2 separate regions of the Homo sapiens genome follow, and region 1 is linked to region 2. Evidence: promoter capture Hi-C in 16 types of primary human blood cells and fetal thymus (Javierre and others, 2016). All regions are on one chromosome and are shown on one strand. The core of a region is centred on a gene start or on the middle of the fragment in contact, and the rest is flanking DNA. Distances in the headings are between cores, read along the strand shown.

Region 1 (5,622 bases), core at 1-2,500, about 15 Mb after region 2:
CTCCCTGGGCTTCTTCCTGCCTTAAGGATTCCCCTCTTGCTGGAACATTCTTCTTCTAAATAGCTGCCTGGCTGATTCTCTCATCTTCTGCCTCCTGGTTACATCACCTGTCCCTTCTTCCCAGATTCTTATTCTGTTCTATTTTTTCTCATCTCCCCTTTCTAATTTATTAATATTCTGTTACTTACTGTTTATCTTCCCCTCCTGGAATGTAAGTTTCATGAGGGAGGAGCTTTTTTTTCGTCCATTTTGTTCCCTAATGAATCTGAACTGCCCAGAATGGAACCTAGTATATAAGGCATTCAAGAAATACTCGTTCAGTGAATGACTACATTGACTTGAGACATGGGGGAACATCTTGCAATGACCTGGTGCCCTTTGAAGGCAAAGGTGAGTTTGAGTCTCGCTTAGGAGGCTGGGACCAAATAGTAAAGGATAATTAGTAAGGTTGATTAAAGTGGAATGTTTCTATATATAATGTTTAAGTCTTTGTTTATAAATCTAGAATGAAAGCAACATCCTTTAATTCTTATGGATATGGTTTCTATTTTTGCATACTTTTATGAATAACTAGAAAAATACTAGTGAATCTCTTTCCAGGAAAGCAGATTTAATATATTCAGGAAGTTAACACTGTTGTGAAAAATTACAGACATGATATTTCTTACTTTACCTTATGAGCCTTATTCACAGCTGCCTTTTTATATTTTATGTGTTTATAGTACCCAGACCTTCCTTTTCTGGTGGTATTATTGTTATTATCATTATTATTTCTCAAGACAGTGTCTTGCTCTGTCAGTGCCATGATCATAACTCACTGAAGCCTCTAACTCCATCAATTTTCCTTCCTTAGCCTCCCAAGTAGCTAGGACTACGGGGGCTTGCCACCATCCCCACCTTATTTCTATTGATTGATTGATTGAGATGGAGTCTTGCTATGTTGTTCAGGCTGGTCTCGAATTCCTGGCCTCAAGTAATCCTCCCCAGTTGCTGGGATTACAAGCATGAGCCACCATACCTGCTACTATGAGGTTTCTTGATTACTTTTTTGTTATTCCCTTAATTTTGATTATATGGATAGTGGTCCAATTATGAGACCAAACTTACCTTAACATATTGGAAGCTTAGCATACAACAACTGAACAGTTTTCTGATGGTGAACTGTTTAGAAGCAAAATTAAATGTATTCTATTCCACTCTTTAATTTTTGATCCCAAATCAGTAACAGAATTGTCAGAACAGTTCTTGCTCTTGGAACAAGAATGCAAATTTGACTACTTATTAGTCAGGAAGAAAATTTTAATGTTTTTATACGACAGTAGTATTGAGTAGATATGTTTCTTCTGTTATTGATATTATTGCATGGAGTTTTTTGTATAAGCTTAAGTAGTTTTATTTCCTCTATTTACAGTTGGCTAAAAAAAAGAAAAGAACATGGAGGCAGATATAATCACAAATCTTCGATGCAGGCTCAAAGAGGCTGAAGAAGAGCGACTAAAAGCTGCACAGTATGGTTTACAACTAGTAGAGAGTCAAAATGAATTACAGAATCAATTGGATAAATGTCGTAATGAAATGATGACCATGACTGAGGTAGGACTCTGGACTCCTCTGTCTGCAAGAGTGTGCTTAGCTATTGAAGATTTGTCCTGTTTAGCAATTAATAGTAGTAGTAGTTTATTCTTTTCTGAAGATTTTAGATCTAGTTCCCGCCCTGCCCCGTCCCTGTTAAAAAAGAATGAACTAAATGAATTCCTGTTATTCTTTCCACCCTAGTGTATTCAGAGTTTGAAAGATCAAGTTATCATTACTCTCTTTGCCACATTTACTACCAGATTTTGCTTTGTCTGCACACTTCCTAGAAGACCTCACTTGTTTTAGACCTCTAAACATCTAAGTGCCCCATGACACTACACCAAGCCCTTAGTTCCCCCATGAAATCTAGGTTTGTGTTCAACTGCCCACTAATAGACTTCTCAAACTTAACACAGACAGAAGAGTGGATTCCCTGTCCGTTAACCAAATATTCTTTTACGATTTTTTTTAGCTTATTTAGTAAATATAATAGCATTCAGTTTCTTGAACACCAAAAATCTTTATATACCAAAGATTTTTGGTATATTTTTGGTTTCTTTATATACCAAAAATCTAGAACTTTTAGTCAATATCTTCCCTTTATTTCTCACATTTCACTCATTAATAAGTTCTAAGAACTAGACTACAAAGCATGTATCTTTGCTACTGGCACTGTAGTCCAGATCACCATCATCACTCCTAGACAAGTATTGTAGCCTTCTGGCCGGGTTGCCTGCTTCCATTGTTGCCATTCATGCCATTCATTCTTCACTCAGCGTCTAAGTGGTCGTGGAATAACACACCAAAGGTCATGCCACAGCCCTGCTAAAAACCATACAACAGCTTCTGATTTTATTTACAACAAAATCTGAGCTCCATCCTTGGGTTTGTAGATCCCTATGTGACCTGACCCCTGCCAAGCTTCTGACCTCACCTCAAACTGCTTTGCCTTGTTCTTGACTATACTGGTCCTCCCTTATGGGCTTTACACCAGCTATTGCCTTTTTTTTTTTTTTGAGTTGTTTACCCCTCACTGCTCTTGGGTTGAGTCCTCAGATTTCAGCTTTCATTTAAATGTCACTTCAGCGGAGAGGTCAGCCCTTACTATGTAATGTAAAGTTGCCCTGATTCACTTTTTTTTTCTTTTTTCTTTTTTTTTTTTGAAACAGGGTCTCACTCTGTCGCCCAGGCTGGAGTGCAGTGGCGCAATCTTGGCTCACTGCATCCTCCACCTCCTGGGTTCAAGAGATTCTCCTACCTCAGCCTTCCGAGTAGCTCGGGGTTACAGATGTGTGCCACCACATCCGGCTAATTTTTGTGTTTTTAGTAGAGATGGGGTTTCACCATGTTGACCAGGCTGGTCTTGAACTCCTGGCTTCACGTAATCTGCCTGCCGAAGTGCTGGGATTACAGGCATGAGCCGTTGTGCCCGGCCCTGATTCCACTCTTAATTATCTGCATTGCTAATTATCTCTAGATTATAAACTCCATGAGAGAGGGAATTTTGTATGCCTTGTTCACTATCCTGAATGCCTGCCACACGATTATTTCTTAAAAGAATGAATGAATAAATCTGGGTAATTTAGCAAATGCTCAGTAACATATTTAAACTTGAATCTCAACATTGTAAATATGGCAGGTAAAAAATATCTGTAGCAGGTAAAAATAACTAGTGATGGCAACCTTTGTGTTTCTACATAGTACTGTTGTAAACCAAGAACTGAGTGCAAAGTCATAAAGGCAAAGTAAAGATTACAAATATCACTAATAGAAAATAAAACTGTTATACTTAATCATTTTGAGTCATAACTTGTCAAATTTCAGTGTTTAACAGTTAATACTCTTTGTCTTCCTTTAAAATAAAATGGTTTTTGAGGGGAATATTTTATCATTTTTTAAAGCCTCTTGAAGGAGTTCGTACTTGTAACATTTTTAATGTCTAAACTTCCCTGTGAGTAAGCAAAAGCCCTTTTAATTACTCCTTTTGTCTCAGCTCTGCATTCATTCTGATAGACCTTTTGTGACATTTCTCAGATGACTACATTCTGAAAGTAAAGGCTAATTCAGTATTTCTTTTTTTTCAACTATTATTACTACTACATTGTGTTCAGAGCTACAAGTAGAGCATCTCATTATCAAACTAATAATTCTCATGAGGAAAGCTTAAGTGCTGTTAAATCTTTTTTTGTTGTTAGCAGAGATTACTTGACTTGACGTGTTGACATACCATGGAGCACATTTTACTTCCTTGACAAGGCACAGAAGCAGTAAGGTATCCCTTGCATGGGTTTAACATAGTTTCGAAATACACCTCAGGGGTTTATTAAGACTGATTAACTACAAAGTTATTCCAGGTTTAACATGTCTTCGTTATTTGGAAAGCAGCAAATGCTTGAAATAAGAATGAAACAATTGAAGTTGAAAACTGATTGTATGTAATGGCTTTAGGCTATTTTTATGTAATTGAATTGTAATTGAATCTGTTTTCAGAGTTATGAACAAGAAAAATATACCCTTCAAAGAGAAGTTGAACTCAAGAGTCGAATGTTAGAAAGTTTGAGCTGCGAATGTGAAGCTATTAAACAACAACAAAAAATGCACCTGGAGAAATTGGAAGAACAACTAAGCAGAAGCCATGGACAGGAAGTGAATGAACTAAAAACTAAGGTTGGGATATCTGCGTATTTCAGCACAAAATATTCCATATTTATGCAGCCATCTGTAAACTTTAGATGATAAAGATTTTCTTAAGTGTCAGCTTTGCAAAATAGCCAAGATCTAAGTCTTCATTATCTTAATATTGGGGGTGGGAACACTGAGATACAAGAGTTTGTCTAAGGGACTTGTATAAATTATATCCTATTAATTAAATACAATTATTTAATTTTGGTTGCTGGATATTTGTGAAGGTTTAGTTTAGTGACTAGCATGGCCTCCTTGCTGATAGTGGGTACAGCAGCCCCTTGCAGAAAGCCTCGTCTCCTAGCCTTCCCTGCAGTCAGTGGTATGCTTTGTAATTCTGTAAAACAGACCAGTAGTTTCTTACTAGTTAATGTGCATTACAAATGACACTTTATAGTTTGTTTACTGAGGATAAACTAATACATGTGCTCCAGTTCTTACAATAATATTGTGGAAAGGTACCATTATCATTTCCATATACCAGATGAAAGAGCCAGTGTTTAGACAGACTGAGTAAATTGGACACAATTCAAGAACTAGAAATTCTCCATCTAGGTTTGAACTGAGGCTGTCTGACTCCAAAGGCTGTGTTACTGAATCACTACATAGTCTAACAGCATGTTACACTGGCTCCATTTCAAACATAAACGCAAGATAAATGATTGGTCAGTGGTTTTCCCTTTTCCCAGCTAGCCAGTGCTTTCAGGTTGCTTCTGAGGAATCCAGAACTTTTTATCATGGATCTGCTTTGTGTATAGTCTATACTCTGACTTTTCCAGACACTGTCTACCAAAACTTGCCTGACTTTTGTCCTCCTTTCTCAGAAGTCTGTTACCCAATTTTCAGCTTCTTGTATAGCAGCCTCTAAGATTTTTCTTTTTCTGTATACCACCTATACTATTACTTAATTTCTCATTGACTCTCTTTTAATGTTTACTGATTTTAAGAAACATCAATGAAAGTATTTTTTTTTCCTTTTTTTTTTTTTTTTTTTTGAGGCAGAGTCTCACACTGTCGCCCAGGCTGGAGTGCAGTGGCATGATCTCGGCTCACCTGCAACCTCTGCCTCCCGGGTTCAAACGATTCTCCTGCCTCAGGCTCCTAAGTGGCTGGGATTACAGGTGTGCGCCACCACGCCCAGCTAATTTTTGTATTTTAATAGAGACAGGGTTTCACCATGTTGGTCAGGCTGGTCTCTAACTCCTGACCTCGTGATCCGCCCACTTCAGCCTCGCAAAGTGCTGGGATTACAGGCCTGAGCCACTGCGCCTGGCCAAAATTACATATTTAAGCTTGCTTATTTTTTCCCAGTATACACTAAAACAAACATAGCTATCTAAATATACCTTCATGTAATATATAATC
Region 2 (5,161 bases), core at 364-2,863:
TCTTATCAGTTAATTGCATCTTGGATGTGCTGGGAGTCAGCTTGCACAAGTTAAGTTCTTGAGGAAGGGGCTGCCAGTGAAAGAGCCAAGATGGAGTCTGTCTGGCTCTCTTAGCTAAGCAAGAGTCAATTCAAGTGGAAACAAGGCTAGGTGATCAGAGGAAAAAGGGAGAGTCTAAAAACAGGGTTAGTAAAAACAAGGTTGGGCATTACAATATGGAGTCCGGGAGACAGGCTGGTGTGAGCTGTGATCGAGCCACTGCACTCAAGCCTGGGCAATAGAGTGAGACCCTGTCTCAAAAAAACAAAACAAACAAAAATATGAAAGTACGAATCTGGAATTAAAAAGGGAAAGAACAGTTTCTGCAACTGGGTGGAAATTCTGGCTCTGGGTTCTGGGTACTCAAAGATGAAGGAGAAGCAAATGGAGTGACTCTTGATTTGCTTGATTGAGGGCCAGCTGTGTGAAGGAAGCTGTATGTGGTAAATGGTGTGGAAGAAAGTTTCCTTTCAACTCAAAAATGCTAAAATGCTCAGATTCTGCACTACTCGTGTGTTGCTTGTTTGCATTGGGTATCTGACATTCCTGCATAGGTAGCAAACCGCAATCTGAACTACCTGTTATTCTAATACAGAGGGGTCAAATACATATATTTGAAGGCGTCTAGGGGCACAAATTTGGAGGCACCTAGTCGTAGATTGATCACTGGTTTGCCAGTTGTTAGTTGAGAGACTTTAACATATCCTAAATATGTTTCCTCATTTGAAGAAGGAAAATGATAATCCATGCCTTGTTGGATTGCTGTGAGGAATAAATGAGATTTAGTGAAATACCTGCCTGACATAAGGCAGTAAATGCCAGATGAATATAAACTCATTCTTGAAGGTCAACCAGATTAGTAGGGATTAGGACAGCATACATCATATTTGAACTATTTGCTCTTTAAAAGAGATTTTAGGCTAGGTTTCGTGGCTCATACCTCTAATCCTAGCACTTTGGGAGGCCGAGGAGGGCAGATTGCTTGAGCCCAGGAATTCGAGATCAGCCTGGGCAATTTGGGGAAACTCCTTATCTATAAAAAATACAAAAATTAGCCGGGCGTGGTGATGTGCGCCTGTAGTCACAGCTACTTGGGAGGCTGAGGTAAGAGGGTGGCTTGAGCCCGGGGTCGAGGCTGCAGTGAGACTAGGTCATTGCTACCACACTCCAGCCTAAGCGAGAGAGAGACCCTGTTTCAATAAAATGAAATAAAATAGCTTTCACACTATTTCAACTGATCTTTACAACAAGCTTGTGCCCTAAGGTTAGTCATTTCTGATAAGAAAACTGAGGACCACCGGATTAGGTGGCTTGTTCACGGATTCTGTTCCCCTACTCCTTTCTAGTTTGTGAGTTGGGACTTTAGTTTTTCTGAATCCAGGTGAATTTTCGGAAGCCCACGTGCTTTCGGCCTTTATTAATTAATTCATTCCCAAGCCAGGTTCGCCTGACCACACCTCGAGCGCCGGCCCAGTGCTTGCGATCTTCGTGACGGCACCTGGGGTGTAAGTACTGCTTGTGGGAGAGCCCCACAGGAAATCCAGAGTATTGCGCATGCGTGCTGTCCAGAAGGCGCTTGAACTCGGCGGCTTCCGTAGCGGGAGGGCGAAAGATGGCGGCGGCAGTACTGGGACAGTTGGGTAAGGATTTCTTAGTGGTTAAGCGACAGAAGGGAGTCGAGATGGAATCTGAGTTGACGGCTTGTGTTGATGTTGCAGGTGCGTTATGGATACATAACCTGAGGAGCCGGGGGAAGCTGGCCTTGGGGTGAGTCTCTCGCTTCGGAGTTTCGGAAGGGCCCAAGGCATCTTTAGTATTCTGCCAGTTGGTAACTGAGCGCCTCCGTGCCTAACTGTGTTTTAGGCTCTGGGGTTACTGAGGCGAATGAGACAGCCCGAGTCTCTGCTTTGTCACTCTATTTTTTCTCCACCTTATTGCATAAACTGTACAGGGATCAGGATTACCCATAACCCAAGGGCGATTGTAAATGCGATTTCCGAACGTCTACTGTGATCTTTCTGGACAAGGTTAGACTATTCCATCTCCATATGGAAGCGTCCAACTTTTCAAGTTACCTCTCTGATTACTTGCTTACATGGGCAGGGACCGTGTTGTGGACAACTCTGCTTTACGTCGTACCTGACATTGTGTTTAGCGGTTTATATGCTTTAACTCACTCTCATAACATTCTACGAGTAGGTTCTGCTATACCCGTTTTTCAGACAAGGAAATTGAAGTCCCCAAACGTAAAATAACTTGCCTAAGGCCACTCAGTTGTAGGAAATTTTGAAGCTTTATACCAGAGCATTCTGTAGCCTTAGGACAAAAGCATTCATTAAAGGTTAGGGTAAGTAGTCGCTGTATTTCTCCCCAAAATAAAAAATCGGTATTTGAAAATTGATAATCTGATTGTAAATTTTCTGGTCTGTCCATTTGTTAGCATTGATTTTGGTTTAGTTCATAGGCTTTGCAGACAGATGAGTTGTATATGAATCCATTTTTTAACTGTGATCTTGGAAAAGTTACTTATTCTTAATAAGCTTCAGTTATCACTTTTATGATATGAGCGTTATGTTAGTACCTATCTCTTAGGATTTAAAAAATTTTTTAATTTTTATTTATTTATTTTTTTAGATGAAGTGTTGCTATGTTGCCCATGCTGGTCTCAAACTTAAGGGCTGAAACAATTCTCTTGCCTCAGCCTCCTGAAGTACTGGGATTACAGGCACATGCCATCTATGTAGCTCTAGTAGATTTTAAAAAGGAAATTCAAACAAGATAATGCATATGAAGTATTTAGTATGTTTATGGCATGTGATAATCCCACTCTGAATTCTAGTTGCCATTAATGTTTTTATTATTATAAATTATTACTGAGTTCCCAATTATATTTAACCCTTTTCTAAGTTTTTGGGTCCGAGGGGGATAAAGAGGTGGGCTAAAGAAGAAAATAGGAAGTAGTAGCTCTTAGGATTTGTCTGTACTCTTCTTAGATAATCTTCTATCACTCTTCCCCCAACCATGCTGATTTACTTACTTTTTCTGAATATACTTTGCACTTACTTGCTTCTTGGCTTTTCCTACTATGCCCTCACATCTTGTCTATAACAGCAGTCCTACCCATTATTCAAACCTCTGTTCAGATGTTTTCCCTTCAGGAAGTTTTCACTGGTTTCTCTAAAACGGAAAGAAATTAGTTTTTCCTTCCTTTTAGCATGTGTGCCTTCTATGATGACTTCATGTATATGTGTATGTGCCCTTTACTAGCTTGTGTATCTTGGAGAAGTAGGGACATTTATTTATTGTTGTACCTCCAGCATAAGGTCTTACACAGGCAAGTATTTTGATGTTGATTTGAATTGTCTTGCACCAACTTGTATTAAGAAGCTCTGAGCAAGAAACTTAAGCAGTTTGCCTTTAGTCTTTTCCTCTATGTCATGATACAAGAGTGTTTGATTTTGCTAGATAATCTCTAAGGCTATTTGCAATTCTGAAGTTATTACATAATTTTGTGAATCCTTATTTTGGATTTTCTAGTGGGGAAAATGACCATAAGAAAACTAAGTAGAAAGGTATAAATAATGTTCATGATAACCATGTAAAATTTTAGCATATAATCTGATTCAGTGATGAGAAACTTTTTTTTCCTTTTTTTTTTGGAGACACGGTCTCGCTCTGTGCCTAGGCTGAAGTGCAGTGCTGTGATCATAGCTCACTGCAGCCTCAAACTCCCGGGCTCCCACCTCAGCTTCCTAAGTAGCTAGAACTACAGGTGCATGCCATCACACCTGGCTAATTTTTAGGGTCTTGCTGTGTTGCTCAGGCTGGTCTCTAACTCCTGGGCTCAAGTGATCCTCCTGCCTTGGCCTGGAGGGATTACAGGCATGAGCCGCCAGGAAACTTAATTGCATATAGGCCCCAGACTAGAAATAAATAAACTAAGGGAAGTTGTCTATGTAAAATGAGAGTGGGAGGGCCTGTGGTGGTCAGTAGAGTGTATTCCTCATCTAAAAACATTGAATTAGGTTAAGAAAACTGCTGCTGACCAAATAAAACATTTCTGCAGGATATATATATATATACACACATATATGCACATATATACATATATACACATATATATACATATATACACATACATACATGTATATACACACACATATATATATAGATATTAAAATTTTTTTTTTTTTAAAGACAGCGTTTTGCTGTGTCACCCAGGCTGGAGTGCGGTATCATGATCATAGCTCACTGCAGCCTCGATTCAAGCCATCTTCCCAACTCAGCCTCCCAAGCAGCTGGGATCACAGGCGTGCACTACTACACCTGACTTTTTTTTGAGTTTTAGTAGAGACAAAGTCCTGTTATATTGCCCGGCTGGTCTGAAACTCCTGGGCTTAAGTAATCTCCCACCTCAGTCTCCCAAAGTGCTGGGATTACTCTGTAGGCTATATTTGTTAGCTGACTGACAGTTTTCAGTTTTTGAATTCCAAGTCTCCTATTTTACTGATGCATACATTTGAGAAGTTTTGTGACTTACTGAAGGTTACACAGTTAAATGTCAAAGTGAGGATCTAAACAAAATATTTTCTGGGACTACAGGTGCAGGCCGCCATACCTGGCTAAGTTTTGTATTTTTAGTAGAGATGGGGTTTCACCATGTTGGCCAAGCTGGTCTCAAACTCCTAGGCTCAAACGATCCGCCCGCTTTGGCCTCCCAAAGTGCTGGGATTACAGGCATGAGCCACCACGCCCAGCCAAAAAAATATTTTTTTTTAGGAGACAGAGTCTCACTATGTTGTACAGGCTGGTCTCGCACTCTTGGGCTCAAGTGATCTTCCCACCTCAGGCTCCCGAGTCTCTGGGATTACAGACGTGAGCCACCAAGCCTGTCTGTACCACCCTTTAGATGGGGGCATATCCTCTTAAGCTTTCCTCAGTTTCCAACCATGTGTAAAATTTTGGCATAGTTATTTACACTCAGTCCTCTTACCTTACCTGTCTCTGTATTCTTTCATTGATTCTACAAATATGTATTTAGTGCCTGCTCTGAGCTGGGAACTATTCTAGCACTGAGGATTTTGCAGGGAACAGGAACAGACAATAATCCCTTGCCATTGTG

What was found. Contacts are between HindIII fragments. The CHiCAGO score rates a contact against its expected background, and 5 or more counts as called.
Region 1: a fragment that was not itself captured here is called in contact with the fragment with the promoter of MRPL22 in region 2 in 1 of 17 cell types (fetal thymus); the score reaches 5.5 in fetal thymus.

What each region holds. Positions count from the first base shown.
Region 1 is chr5:169,586,983-169,592,604 of GRCh38, forward strand. SPDL1 (spindle apparatus coiled-coil protein 1) reads left to right here. Exons shown (of 12, transcript NM_017785.5): 2 at 1,412-1,593; 3 at 4,066-4,242. The coding sequence starts at 1,435. Among named protein-coding and RNA genes, the nearest start is that of SPDL1, 6.0 kb to the left of the region's middle. The HindIII fragment of the contact is 258 bases long and covers 1,122-1,379 here.
Region 2 is chr5:154,939,460-154,944,620 of GRCh38, forward strand. MRPL22 (mitochondrial ribosomal protein L22) reads left to right here and starts at 1,614. Exons shown (of 7, transcript NM_014180.4): 1 at 1,614-1,679; 2 at 1,758-1,806. The coding sequence starts at 1,652. RefSeq lists an enhancer at 1,554-1,713. The HindIII fragment of the contact is 1,041 bases long and covers 1,289-2,329 here.